Linked DNA regions of Homo sapiens: regions 1, 2, 4 and 5 are each linked to region 3. Evidence: promoter capture Hi-C in 16 types of primary human blood cells and fetal thymus (Javierre and others, 2016). All regions are on one chromosome and are shown on one strand. The core of a region is centred on a gene start or on the middle of the fragment in contact, and the rest is flanking DNA. Distances in the headings are between cores, read along the strand shown.

Evidence for each region. Contacts are between HindIII fragments. The CHiCAGO score rates a contact against its expected background, and 5 or more counts as called.
Region 1: a contact is called between a fragment that was not itself captured here and the fragment with the promoter of CHST13 in region 3, in 1 of 17 cell types (megakaryocytes). The highest score is 5.4, in megakaryocytes.
Region 2: a contact is called between a fragment that was not itself captured here and the fragment with the promoter of CHST13 in region 3, in 5 of 17 cell types (megakaryocytes, M2 macrophages, M0 macrophages and 2 more). The highest score is 10.3, in megakaryocytes.
Region 4: a contact is called between the fragment with the promoter of TXNRD3 here and the fragment with the promoter of CHST13 in region 3, in 5 of 17 cell types (megakaryocytes, M0 macrophages, M2 macrophages and 2 more). The highest score is 15.5, in megakaryocytes.
Region 5: a contact is called between a fragment that was not itself captured here and the fragment with the promoter of CHST13 in region 3, in 1 of 17 cell types (megakaryocytes). The highest score is 5.7, in megakaryocytes.

What each region holds. Positions count from the first base shown.
Region 1 is chr3:126,748,061-126,750,760 of GRCh38, reverse strand. All of the region lies in intron 4 of CHCHD6 (coiled-coil-helix-coiled-coil-helix domain containing 6), which reads right to left. Among named protein-coding and RNA genes, the nearest start is that of CHCHD6, 45 kb to the right of the region's middle. RefSeq lists an enhancer at 1-221. The HindIII fragment of the contact is 4,734 bases long and covers 1-2,700 here.
Region 2 is chr3:126,674,304-126,677,003 of GRCh38, reverse strand. No RefSeq gene overlaps it. Among named protein-coding and RNA genes, the nearest start is that of TXNRD3, 21 kb to the right of the region's middle. The HindIII fragment of the contact is 1,916 bases long and covers 441-2,356 here.
Region 3 is chr3:126,522,872-126,525,571 of GRCh38, reverse strand. CHST13 (carbohydrate sulfotransferase 13) reads right to left here and starts at 1,417. Exons shown (of 3, transcript NM_152889.3): 1 at 1,143-1,417. The coding sequence starts at 1,239. RefSeq lists enhancers at 30-530, 531-1,031, 1,092-1,592, 1,593-2,093. The HindIII fragment of the contact is 2,161 bases long and covers 746-2,700 here.
Region 4 is chr3:126,653,755-126,656,454 of GRCh38, reverse strand. It overlaps TXNRD3 (thioredoxin reductase 3), which reads left to right and starts at 1,331. Exons shown (of 16, transcript NM_052883.3): 1 at 1,331-1,707. The coding sequence starts at 1,465. The HindIII fragment of the contact is 4,771 bases long and covers 1-2,365 here.
Region 5 is chr3:126,697,771-126,700,470 of GRCh38, reverse strand. No RefSeq gene overlaps it. Among named protein-coding and RNA genes, the nearest start is that of CHCHD6, 5.1 kb to the left of the region's middle. The HindIII fragment of the contact is 4,094 bases long and covers 1-2,700 here.

The DNA of each region.
Region 1 (2,700 bases), core at 29-2,528, 230 kb before region 3:
AACAAGGAAGTTCAGGCTCATTGCAAAAGGAATTAGCATTAAAGCTAGGTGGGTCTGCTCATTTACAGGGAGGCTTGGGAGAAAGCTCTGGGAACTTGCCTCACATGCTAGGGGTATCCAGGCACTCAAGACTCAGGCCTAGAGGCAGCCATGCCCAACCAAGGCCTGCCCCTAGCAGACCCTCTAGCACCAAAGGCCACGCTGGCTTGACCTCCATCTCAGTCCTTATCCTGAAGCAATTCCCAGGAGGGAGTCGCCAACTCTGGAGCACTTCTCTCCGATTCTGTCTGATCTGGTAGAAAACACTGCCCCCATCTGAGGTCTGGCCAGGGCCATACTTTGGACAGCCAGCCAGGGGAAGAGCTGTCTGCTTTGCCATGGGTGGCATCTTAACAGATCATCTTCCAAACAGAGACATGCACATCTGGGGTCTCAGTGGAAGCCCTGAGGTCAGCTGCCTGGAAGGCCAGATGAGCACTAGGAGAAAATAGTCAAAGACGACTCTGTGGGATATTCCCTGCTTGGTCCCCAGAAGCAACCCCCATGAATGTCTGGGCAGAATTGACAGCATTGTGCCTTCTCGAGGACCCCTCCACTGCTAACTATGGAGAACTGAGCAGCTATCCCAATTGCGCAATGTTTTGTAAATGATTCAAGCCCAGGTATGGAGAGAAGACAGGTTCTGTACTGGATGTCCTCAGTTTGAGGTCCCTGAAGGCACCAGGAAAGGTGTGGCCAACCAGCATCTAGAGAACAGAGGTCCTGAACAGACGTCGGGCCAAGGTGGATGTGGGTGTTTTCAAGAGGTAATGAGGAGGCAACAAACAACAGTGGTGGATTTCCAATTGTCCCCCCATAGCCATTCTTTGGTATGGAGCTTTGGCTGGGCATCCAGCTACACTGTCTAGACATTTCCTAAACAACCTGTCACTAGCAGTGGTCATGTGACTATCTTCTGGCCAACAGGGTATGTCCAGAAATGATGGAGCCCAGTTCTGGTCTTGCCCATAAAAGAGCCAAACGGGAATGCACTCACATGGCCCGTGTCCCCTTCGCACTGGTCAGGAACTGAAGAGAAATGGAGCAAACAGTTTGCACCCAAGGCTGCTGAGGCTGGCAGAGCTCCCACCAGTCTTGGACTACCTTTAGACAGTTCCATGAAAGAGAAACATGTCTTTCTTATTTATGCTACTGTATCTGGGGGCCTCTCTGCTACAGCAGCTCAATCTAGACCATAACTGATAGAAGGACCCAGAGGTAGGGAGGCCAGAGAGGAGTCTAGGCATCTCCTTGTCAAAAAAGGGCATCTGGCTCAGGCCAGAAACCCAAGAGTCATTCTCAACACCTCCTTCTTTCTCACCCCACAGCCCCCATCCTCACCAAATGTGTCATTTCTTTCTCCACATAATTCTTCCCCCAGATACTGTCACTGTCCTTTGTCTGGGTCACCATGATCTCTCTGAAGGGCCCTTGGGAGTCCTGTTGATTCCCCTGCCTCTGCTCTTGCCCACTCTGCCATCTTCCCCAGAATCTCTATGAAAACCTTTCACATGCTCCCTGCTGCTTCTCAAACCCAGTTTCCTGCCATGCCCATGAGTCCCCACCCACTGTTCACACCCTTCTTGCTGGCAGCTGCATTCACTCACTGAACTCTCTACCACCCAGGCCGGGGCACACTCCCCACAAACTGCAGAGCTCCCCCTCCTCATTCTTTGTCTCCTTCCCACTTACCCTCTAGGTCGCGGCTCACATGTCCACTCCTCAGAGAAGCATTAGCTGACCTCAATCTAAATTAGGGCATCACTATCACTCTCTCTCTCTCTGCAGCAGTATGCTTATCTCAGCTGGTAATAGTTACTTGTTTGACATCTGTTTCTCCAACTGGACCAGGGGCTCCAGTAGGGTCAGGATCGGGTCACTTCTGGATGGCCAGCCCAGCCCGGGCTGCAGCCCTGCTCAGGGAACATGTCTTGAATGGATGGATGGAGCATGCAGAAAGGGGGCAGGATAGCTAAGGCACAGAGGCTCACAGAAGGGACATTTAAAGGAAGAGTAGCTACTTGGTGATAAATACCCCTTGAAGGAAATGTGAAGAAGGAAAGTTATCAGATTTGTTGGAAAGAAGATCATGGTAATTTCTTTTCTTTCTTTTTTTTTTTTTTTTTGGAGATGTAGTCTCACTCTGTTGCCCAGGCTAGAGTGCAGTGGCACAATCTCGGCTCACCGCCACCTCCGCCTCCCGGGTTCAAGCAAGTCTCCTATCTCAACCTCCCAAGTGGCTGAGATTACCAGCGCCCACCACCACGCCCAGCTAATTTTTGTATTTTTAGTAGAGATGGGGTTTCACCATGTTGCCCAGGCTGGTCTCGAATTCCTGACCTCAGGTGATCCATCCGCCTTGGCTTCCCAAAGTGCTGGGATTACAGGCGTGAGCCACTGCACCCAGCCAATCATGGTAATTTCTGAGATCACGCCAAATTGTAATGAGTTTGAGAAGAAAGATTATGACTACCACTGTGATTCCAAGACACTCTATGGCAAGGAAAGGGAAGAGCCAGGAGGCAACCAGAGTAGCTGCTTGGGAAAGGTCTATTGGTTTTAGACAGGGATATCTGAGGAGAAAGTGGGGAAGTAACAGAGCAGGCTCTAAGAGGAGGGGAGGAGCTAGATCCAGGATCCAGGTCACTGGCAGAGAGGCCC
Region 2 (2,700 bases), core at 149-2,648, 150 kb before region 3:
GCTCTGCTGGGCAAACTCCCCCCACCAAGGAGGAGAGGCTGCTCTATAGTCTCTGGTTTGTTCCTGGACAATTCGCTCCTTCTCTTTGGATCAGTCACTCTCTAACTGCTATTTGGCTGTCACCCAAGGACTGCTACTCCTTATCCTTCTGGGATGGACTCACTTTCTTCTTGGAGCCCTTCCTCAAGGTGCATCCCCTTTTTGGTGGAGAGAAACCCCAAATAATTTCTCAAAATGTGTGCAAGGTCAACCTTGAGTCCTTTCAGATCTGAAAAGATCTATTTGCCTTTAAACATTGGCTTGTCCTAGATGTATAGGTTCAAAATTCCTTTCCCCCAGAAATTTGGAGACAGTCCTCACTTTCTTCTGGCAGCCTGAGTACCTGATGAGGCAGCTGATGCCAAAATGTCCCTTCCCTGCATCCACCTATTTTGGAAGCTTGTAGGATATTTCCACTATTCTTGATATTCTGGAATTTTGTGCTGATGTCCCATGGGCCTTTTTTTATTCATTATGCTGGGCATTTGAGTTCCCTTCAAACTGAAGACCCAGGTGCTTCAGTTCTGGGAAATTGTCTTCTATTATTATATTATTATTTTACTATTTATGCCCCTTTCTCTCTGTCCTCTATTTTTGAGTCTATTAGGCATTTCAACCTCATGGATTGATTTTCTTGGTTTCTTATATTTTCTCTCATTTTTTAAAACCTTTTTACCTAATTGTCCCATACTGTGGGAAATTTTATTATACATATAGAGATAGATATATATGCACATGTGTGTATACAAATAAATGTGTATATGTATTTTTTTCAAATATTACTATAATATTACAAGTAACAGAAAAATGCAACATAAGATGCTTAAATATGTATATACATACACACACACACACACACACACACACATATACACACACACATTTTGACAATAATACTTCAAATTTACAAGAGTTATTTTCTGGCTTTGTAATTGCTTCTTCTCCATAGCATCCTATTCTTGTTTTATGTATTCAATATCTTCTTTTTTCACAGCTTCAAGATACAATTCACATACCATACAATTCACCCATTGAAAGTGTACAACTCAATGGCTTTTAGCATATTCGCAGAAAGGTGCATCAATCACCACAATCAATTTTAGAACATTTATATTACTCAAAATGATGAACTCTATAACCCCTTGCCATCACTTCCCATTCTCCCCCTCCCTATTTTCTCACCCCTCCAACACCGCCAGCCCAAGGCAACCATGAATCTGCTTCTGTTGCAATATGTTCTTGGCTTTATCATCTGATTTCTTGTACCTGTCTTCAATTAATCAAGAACTTCTAAGACATAAAAGGTGACTAACTAGGCCATATCCTATCCTAAGAGATATATATAGAAGAAAAAGACAAATTTACATTGAGAAGCATAGAAAAAGATAGGTATGCAAATACCAACAAAAGAAAGTAGATTTGGCCATGGTAGTATTTAGAAAAAAATAAAATTTAAGGACTAAAGTGTTAATTAACTAGGACAAAGAATAATATTTTATGAAAAAATATAATTCATTAAGACATTGTGAGTCATGAATTTTTCTTCACCTAATATTAGAACCTTGAAATATATTTATTTGTTAAGATGCTTTGGTTGCAAGTAACAGAAAAATGCAACTCAAGCTGGCTTACATAATTAAGGGAATTCAATGGACCACAAAAGTCCAAAGATAGAGCAGCTGTCAGGTGAGTCTGATCCAGTGGCTGAATGACATTCCCAGAGACCCGGTTTCCTTATTTTTCTCATGCTTGCTTTCAGGCAGGGCATTAATTTCATCTTCTGCAGTCTCTCCTCATGATCAGAGGATGGCTGATGAAGCAACTGGAGTCAAACATTTCCCTATTAGCATGTAGTCTGAGAGATATCTCTCATTTCAATCAATAAAAAACAATTCCTGGGCTAAATCTTCATGGACAAAATTAGGTCATATGACCATGGCTGAACTAATCAATGTGGCCAGCCAAGGGGATGAGAGGGACTGGTTGACTTAGATTTGGCTTATGTACAAAATTTTGAAATAAATTGGAATAAAGGGGAGAAATTCTTCAATTATCCAAGATTATGATAGCTCATTGTGGTGTGAAAAGACTCAATAATATCCCAAACACTTGGAAATGATGTAATATAGAAGAGGTGGAACAAATTCTGAGGAAGCCAACCACATTGTCCAAAACATATATGAGTAAATAGATTGAACAATTAACAAATCTGTAACCATAGTGGTAGATTTTTAACACACCCCTCTTAGAAATTGACATATAAAGGAAACAAGAAATAAGTACGGGCTCTGCAATGTAAATGACACAATTTCAAGCTTCTACTTTGTATGCAACATGTTGAAAATGCACATTCTTTTCAAACAGTTAAGAAGCATTGGCAGAAAATGATAATTGCTGTTAAACTGTGAAGAAGATCTTAATAATTTATAAATAGAAATCAGAGAATCCATGTTTTTGGTCTATACGATAATAAATTTGAAAATTCCCAATAAAGTGTAGCATCAACAGTGACAAAAAAAACTATCCCTTTAAAATATTTAAACATACCTCCTAAATAACTGTTGCATTAAAGAGAAAATTAAAACCAATCTAATTTTTAAAAACTGATTTTCAATTTTTGATTAAAAATTGAAAACTATTTAGAAATAAATGACAATGATA
Region 3 (2,700 bases), core at 168-2,667:
GTCTGCTCAACACCACCAGACAGCTCACAGAAGGGGTTGTGGGGGTGCTGGAAAGAGACACCCCAGCCCTATCCCATGGGCTTGGGGAGGCATCCAGGTCTGACCTGCTGTGTCTGGACACACAAGGGGCAAGGGGCAGTGTGAGGGTCAGGGGGAGTGGGCAGAGGCCTCCCCAGGCCCTGATATCCTCAAGTCTTGGGCCACTCCCACCCCCACTGCCCAACATCCCCGCCCACCCTGGACCTAGTTACTTACTCCCTGGGACTGTGTCTGCCAGGTTCCAAGGGTGGGGCCCAGGATTCTCAGAGCCCACACTGGGGGTGGGGAGGCGGACTGAGTCGTCCCACCCAGCACGCATACCACATACAAGGAAAGGCAAACAGCCCTGAGGTCAGGAGACCCGGGCGCTGGCTGGGCCCCTCCAGTCCCAAGTAGATTGTATAGCCAGCACGTTGCCACCACACCTGTCTCCCCACTCTCTGGCCCGCTTCAGATTGTGTGAAATGGGTTGATGGGAGGCTTCACATGAGCTGAGGAGAGACTCAGAGCAAAGACTCAGCACCGGTGGAGCCCAGGGCACTCAGCTCTGCGGAGTCATGACTAACTGCCTCAGTTTCCCCAGCCAGACCACGAGTGGGTGCACAGGAGTCCCAAGCCCTACCCAGTGTGGATTTCAGGGTGGAGCAGGGAGTGGCACCCACTGCACAGTAGGACAACCAAGGGACCGGACCGAGTGGCCCAAGCTTCCCCTCCTATGCGCATGCGCCCAGCAGCGCTCATGTCCAGGGGCCGTGGGGTGCGCAGGGGAAGGGGGTGAAGGTAAGGGAGATGGCCTTCCCGGATTGGCCAATTGTCCTCTACCCCCCACAACTGACCCCGGTCTCCAGGCACCGGCTGTGGGACTCAAAACAGTCACCGCTCTGGGAGTGGGGAGGTAACTCCGGAGGAGGAGCAAGAGCCTTTGCTCGCGGGGGCGTCTAGAGCCTTTCTGTGCCTCACCAGCGCCCCTGCCCGCCACCCCTAGCCCCAGCCAGGAAGGAGACAACAGGTGTCCCCCGCGCTGTCGAGGGGTCAGGCCGCGGTGGAAAGCGCGAGGAGCCAGGTTTGGTTGGGGGTGCGCGGCTCGGCCGGCGGGCACTCACCCGGGCGCAGGGAGCGGGGCGCGGCGCATAGGAGCAGGAGCGCGGCGCCCAGACAGGCGGCCGCCAGCACGCGCCGCCGGCAGCAGCGCCTCCCCATGCTGTGCCGGGCGCGCGGCGGAGGACAGTCCGCTGGATACGGCTGGGGGCGGAGTTGCACTGGCCCAGGACCCGGCCCCGGCAGCGCAGCGCCTACCAAGACGCGCGGCGCGGCGCAGGGCAGGGGAGCACGGCAGCTGGACCCCAGCCCCACCAGCCCCTGCGAGTCGCTGGGGACTGAGGAGGCGGGACACGGTGGGGCCGCAAGCCCGCTCCTCTTTTCGTGCCCCCACCCTCACCCAATGGAATGGGGCCGAAGTCCAGGGCGCTAGGGCGGAGACTGATTGGGGAAGCCCCTCGCCTCTGGGCCCCGCCCCTAGGGTTTGCCCAGGGGTGCCATTATCCACCCAAGGCCAAGAGGCATTGTCGCGGTGGCGTGCCCCACCCCGGGCGGTGTCCCCTTGCCTTTTTGCTGCCTTAGATGCCAGGGGCCCAAGGGCTGATCTGGGATGAACCAAGGAGCCTAGTAGAGCGTTGCCCTGTCCATGGCTCTCCGGGACCCCCGCCCTCAGTAAGAGGCCTAAGAGTGTCCCTCCCTCCCCGACCCAAGGCTACCCTGCAGCCTTGCTTTCCTCCAGGGTCTCCAGGTCCTGCCTGAATCTAGCTCATGCAGGTGGCACTAGCCTTTGCACAGAGAGGTAGGGTCTCAGCTTACATCCCCCGGGGAATGGAGCTTGTGCCTCATCGTGTCACCCACAACTTCTCTGGGCACCACGTGAGCTCTGAGGACTTGCCAGGGACTGTGTGTGTGTGTGTGTGTGTGTGTGTGTGTGTGTGTGTTGGGGGGTGGAGGGGGCGAGGTGAGAGTAAAGTCCAGCCTTTGAAAGACACACACATCCAGCTAGCCCTGTGGGCAGGAGCCCACGTCTAACCGCAGGGTCTTGCTGCCCAGAAGTCAGGCTAGCAGGGAACGGGAGGGTGCAGCTGGCACTGGGTGCGCGGATGAGTGCGTTGGAAACAACATTTAGCAGTGTGAGTGCATGGGATAGGGTACTACATTACACTGTAGGTTTTTTTTGGAGTTTTTTGTATAAATGTAAGGGACACAAGTGCAGGTTTGTTACATGGAGATATGCAGTGGTGAGGTCTGGGCTTTCCGTGTAACCATCACCTAAATAATGTCCATTGTACCCATTAAGTAATTCCTCATCCCTCCCACCTCGCTCACTCTCCTACCCTTCCAAGTCTCCAGTGTCTATTATTCCACACTCGAAGCTCCAGTTGTTAAACTGTTCTTGAAAAATGTGGTGACTCCAAACCCACCTGGTGCCGCTTACTGCTGTGGGAGATTAGGAAATTAACTGCACCTCTCTGTTTCCCATTTTCCTGTACGGGGGGATAATCCTAAACCTCAGTGCTGTGAAGATTAAATGAGATACAGGAAATGTTTGCAACAGTGTCTGGCACTCAGTGAGTGCCAGGTAAGTATTTGATATTAGTAATTAATTTGTTTATGGTTACT
Region 4 (2,700 bases), core at 82-2,581, 130 kb before region 3:
CCCATCAATGTCTGTTTCCTTCAGGCTGCCCATGTCAATGACCCATCAATGTTGTGTGATGGGCCAGGCTGTGCCATGCAAGAGTGTCATGGTCTGTGCCCCTGATTACTCCCCCTCACGGCTCAAAGAGGAGGACCCAAGCTAATGTGAAAATCACAGGCACTGTGATTGGGTGCTAGATGAAACTTCACGCAGGGACCCGGCCAGCCCTGCGACCTCCCTGAGGGCGACGGCTGGGGACATGGGTCATGTCCACAGATTAGTCTCAGGGAAAAGGAGGATGCACCTGACTTCAAGGCCCGTAGCTTCCACACACTCCCCCCTCATCCTGGACATGTGTCCTCACCTGAACAATGGCCCCATGACTGGTTGTGCCTCATGGGACCCAGGAGATGGAGAGACGCAGCCACACCTCATAGGAGCAGGGCGGCCAGCCTCATTCTCTGCCAAATCCGCAGCGCCCAGCACAGTATCTGGCACATGACAGGCACTCCAGCATCGCTGAGTGCACAGGTTAACAAAAAGCATAAAGTACCTACTAGGCTCCTTCCCCTGCTCTGGTTATTGCATGGGTTCCGCCTAGAGGACTTAACTGAAATGTAAAGAATTGTTGAGAAGAAGGAAACTCCAGGTTTTTGTTTTTGGTTTTGTTTTTTTTTTTTGAGACGGAGTCTCGCTCTGTTGCCCAGGCTGGAGTGCAGTGGCGCCATCTCGGCTCACTGCAAGCTCCGCCTCCCAGGTTCACGCCATTCTCCTGCCTCAGCCTCCCAAGTAGCTGGGACTACAGGCACCCGCCACCATGACCGGCTAACTCAGTCACTGCAGGCAAGTTCAGCTCCGAGGTCTTCCACTCATCCACCGAAATGGACAGAGGATTCCTCTTCTCGCGGTTTCAGAGTCCCTTTGTTAGGGGCGGCTCTGGAATTCTATGTAGAAGGGAACTGACGGGTAGCAACCTAGGAAACTCATTAAAGCTGCATTGCAATAGCAAACGCAATATATTTATTTAGCTTGTGTGATCTAAACTTTTAAAAATATCAATCTTTCCAATTCACACTTCCCATAAAAATTGAAGAACGTATATTTTAAGGTGGTTTAAAGGGGCTGTTGGGGATTATTAGGAGTAAAAGGCATTGCACAGAGGCCATCTCAGAGCGCCATCGCCAAGATTGGGTGGTCTCCGGACGCAGGCACAACCTGGAGATAAAGAGGCTCGCGCTTGGTACCCGCCCCTTTGCGAAGGGCAGGTGACACCTAGGCTGCGGGCGGGCGGGGGACCCAATTTCGCATGCGCGGGGCGGTGTTGGGGGGCGGGGCGAGCGGCTGCCTCGCGGATTCGCGCGGGTGGTGAGAGTGGCCAGCGAGGGCAGCGTTCGCCGCCCCTCAGGCCCCGTCCCGGCGCCGCAGCCGCCTGCGTTTCGGTTTGTGAGCAGGCCCGGCCGGGCCAGGAGCGAGAGCGAGACTCTGGAGCGGTCGCCGCCGCAGTCGCCCGGGCCGGGAAAGGCGGGCGATGCCCCCAACCGCCGCTCGGGCCATGTCCGAGGGGCGCGCGTGTTGTCGCCGCCGGGGCGCCGTGCCCGCCTGTCGTCCCCCGGGCCCAGCCGCTCGTCCGAGGCCCGCGAGGAGCTGCGCCGCCACCTCGTGGGCCTCATCGAGCGCAGCCGGGTGGTGATCTTCAGCAAGAGCTACTGTCCCCATAGTACTCGGGTAGGCGCGGCCCTCGCCGGTTCCACCGCGCGCGACCGGGCCCGCCACGCGGACGCCACCCGGGGCAGGGCGGGTCCGGGCCGGGGCGCCCGCGGGTCCCGGGCTGCGGCGGTGAGGTCAGCCGTCCGTCCTCTCCTCTCCCCGGTCGTCCCCTGAGGTGGGCTTGTGATAGTTTATCAAAACAGAAACTCTCCTAATTGCGTGACCTCGACCCGGGTTAGGACCCTGTGCAGAGCCTCAGTTCCCCCGTTTGTGAAACGAAGGTACGGGAAGGTTGTTAGGACGACTGAGGTAATTTCAGCTTCATGCACACTGCCTTAACTTTTCGGGGCGGACTAGGAATCCGGCATTATTTCTAAGGACAAATGTATTCTGTGTTTAAGAATACTTCACTTAGAAACGAGCCTTTGGGTGATAACCTACGTGTAAGGTACAGACTTTCAACGTTTAGGAATTTACTTCATTTTACAGAAAGTTGAAAAATGATACGTGGAAGACAGTATGCAAAAGCATAAACTATTGGGTTGAGTTCATGAAATTATAGGCTGTGTTTTTCAAATATATTTGAAGTTTACATTGATGTGTATAGTTTCTTAAAACATATATTATGCATATATATTTTTAAGAATAATAAAGTGACACTAGTACTGTAGAAGCTTCCTTGGCTGTCTCCTCCCTCCCTCAGGGTTAACCACTATGCAAAATTTCCTTTTTTTTTTTTTACATTTTTACCAAATATATATATTATTCATCAATATTTGGTTCCTTTTGGCCTGTTTTGGGACTTGATATAAATAGAACCATACATACATAGGTATTCTTCTGCAGTTTTCTTCCTCAACAGTTATGTTTCAGAGATTCATGCATGTTAGTATCTGTAGCTGGGGTTCATTAATTTTCGTTGCTGACTATTCCCTGGGATGAATCGTACCGGAGTTTATCATTCTGCTGTTTTTGGTATTTTGGTCTTAAAAAACAGTACAGCTATATGTT
Region 5 (2,700 bases), core at 8-2,507, 180 kb before region 3:
CCCTGATTTGTAACTTGTCCTTTTCTCAAACTCTTTAATCAGTCTCAAGTTTTTCCTTTAACAGTATATATCTAAAGGAAATGAAATCTTGAAAATATATCTGCTCCCCCATGTCCATTGTAGTATTATTCAAAATACCCAAAATATGGAAACAACCTGTGTCCATCAACAGATGAGCAGATAAAATGTTTTACACACACATATATATACATACACACACACACACACACGCGTGTTTTATCCAGCCATAAAAAAGGAAATCCTGCCATTTGTGACAACATGGACGAACCTGGAGGACATTTTGCTAAGTGAAATAAGCCAGGCACAGAAAGACAAATACTGTATGATCTCACTTATATGTGGAATCTAAAAAAGTTGAACTCATAGAAGCAGAATAGAACATTGGTTACCAGGGATTAGGAAGTGGGGGCATGGGGAAATGGTCAAAGGGTACAAACTTTAGTTATAAGATGAACAAGTTCTGGCCAGGCACAGTGGCTCACGCCTGTAATCCCAGCACTTTGAGAGACTGAGGCAGGCAGATCATTTGAGGTCAGGGGTTTGAGATCAGCCTGACCAACATGGTGAAACCCCATCTCTACTAAAAATACAAAAAATAATTAGCCGGGCATGGTGGCACATGCCTGTAATCCCAATTACTTGGAAGGCTGAGCAGAAGAATCGCTTGAACTTGGGAGGTGGAGGTTCCAGTGAGCAGGACCTCACCACTGCACTCCAGCCCTGGTGACTGAGCGAGACTCCAAATCAAAAAAAAAAAAAAAAAAAGATGAACAAGTTCTGAGGATCGAATGCACAGCATGGATGGTGAATGATGTGTTAATTTCATTGTGATAAGCATTACACAATGTATATGTATATCAAACCATCACATTTTATACTTTAAATATATATAATCTTTGTCAATTAAAAAAAATTTTTTTGAGACATGGGCTCACTCTGTTGCCCAGGCTGGAGTGCAGTGGCATGAAAAGAGCTCACAGCAGCTTTGACCTCCTGGGTTCAAGGAATCCTCCTGCCTCTCAAGACTATAGGTGCATGCCACCACACCTGGCATATATATATATAAAATAGAGACTGGATCTCGCTATGTTGCCCAGCCCAGGCTGGTGTTGAACTCCTGGGCTCAAGCAACCCTCCCACCTTGGCGTCCCAAAGTGCTGGGATTACAGGGGTGAGTCACCGCATCTGGCCATGGGGCCGGACAGCCACCGAGTATTCAGAGGGCCACCAAGACATCTGTGCTGAGCTAATTTAGCAAAACGAGTGAGAGCCAAGGGTGACCATGAGACTCTGTGTGGCCTCACTCCCACTGTGAAGAATCCTTGGGGAGTCTTGAAATTCCACAGACTTACAGCAGCATAGGTAAGCCTCATGACAACCCAGTATATTCTTTATCTCCACTTCACAGATGAGAAAACCGAGGAGCAAGCAGGTGAAGATAATGCAACATTATTGATCCAAAGTAGGAGGAGGATAAAGGCAGTGGCAAGGGACGTGAAGGAAAGGAGGGGGAGGGAAGCAGAGCTTTTTGAGTAAGTTCCTTGTGCCAGGAGTTTTATTACCCTGTTCTAAGGCCCAAAAAACTGAGGCTCTGGGGAGGGAAGGTGTTGTGACGGGTCTGCTCATGGCTACCTGGCACCCAGTTTCCCCTTCCCTACAACAGAACCCCAATTTCCTGAGGTGCAGGCATGTGCCCAATTAGAAAAAATTGCCTCCTAGGCTCCCAGTGGCCAAATGCAGGACAATTTGAACATCAAGAAGAATAGAAAGAGTAATGGCTTATAGCACATTTAATTGATTTAAATCCATTAGCCTATTCTAGTGAGAGGGAGGAAGAGAGGGAGACAGCAACAGAGAGAATAGGAAAGAGGGTAAGGAAATTCTTCTTTACACAAAAATGCCAGCTAACCAGTACAGCGGGCATTTGAGATTTTTTTAAATTGCCACTTTGCCACCTTCAGAGGATTAACTGAGGCAAAAATCATCAAAGGATACTAAAGCCATTGAGTGGAAAAATTGTTGGGGGACAGGCTATTCACCCAATGTGCTGGGACTACCTTGGCCTCCCAAAGTGTTGGGATCACAGGCATGAGCCATCATGCCTGGCCACAGGGCCTGACAGCCACTGAGTATTCAGAGGGCCACCAAGACATCTGTGCTGAATTTTTTCTGCCCCAAAGGAAATTGGGGTTCTGTTGCAGGGAAGGGGGGACCGGGTGCTAGGCAGCCATGAGTGGACCTGTCACAACACCTTCCCTTCCACCCAACGACAGATTTATTCATTACAAAGGGAAAACCATATTACAATGATGACATCTGGCAGTCACTACCTTAACCAAATGACCAAATTTAGCATCTCAAATAGTGGGACCATCTGGCACAATGTCCCTCCCCAAGTGATACAATGAGGAACACAAAACATCTCCAGTGCAGTATTCTTGTCAAAAGTGTAACCTGAATCTAATGGTGAGGACACAGTCAGACAAATCCAGGAACATCCTAGGAAACAACTGGCCTGGACTCTTCCAAAAGGTCAATGTCATAGGAAATAAAACAAAAAAAAAAAGGTAGCTTAAAAAAGACGAAGGAGGCCAGGTGAAGTGGCTCACACCTGTAATCCCAAAACTTCTGGAGGCCGAGGTGGCAGGATCACTTGAGGCCAGGAGTTCGAGACTAGCC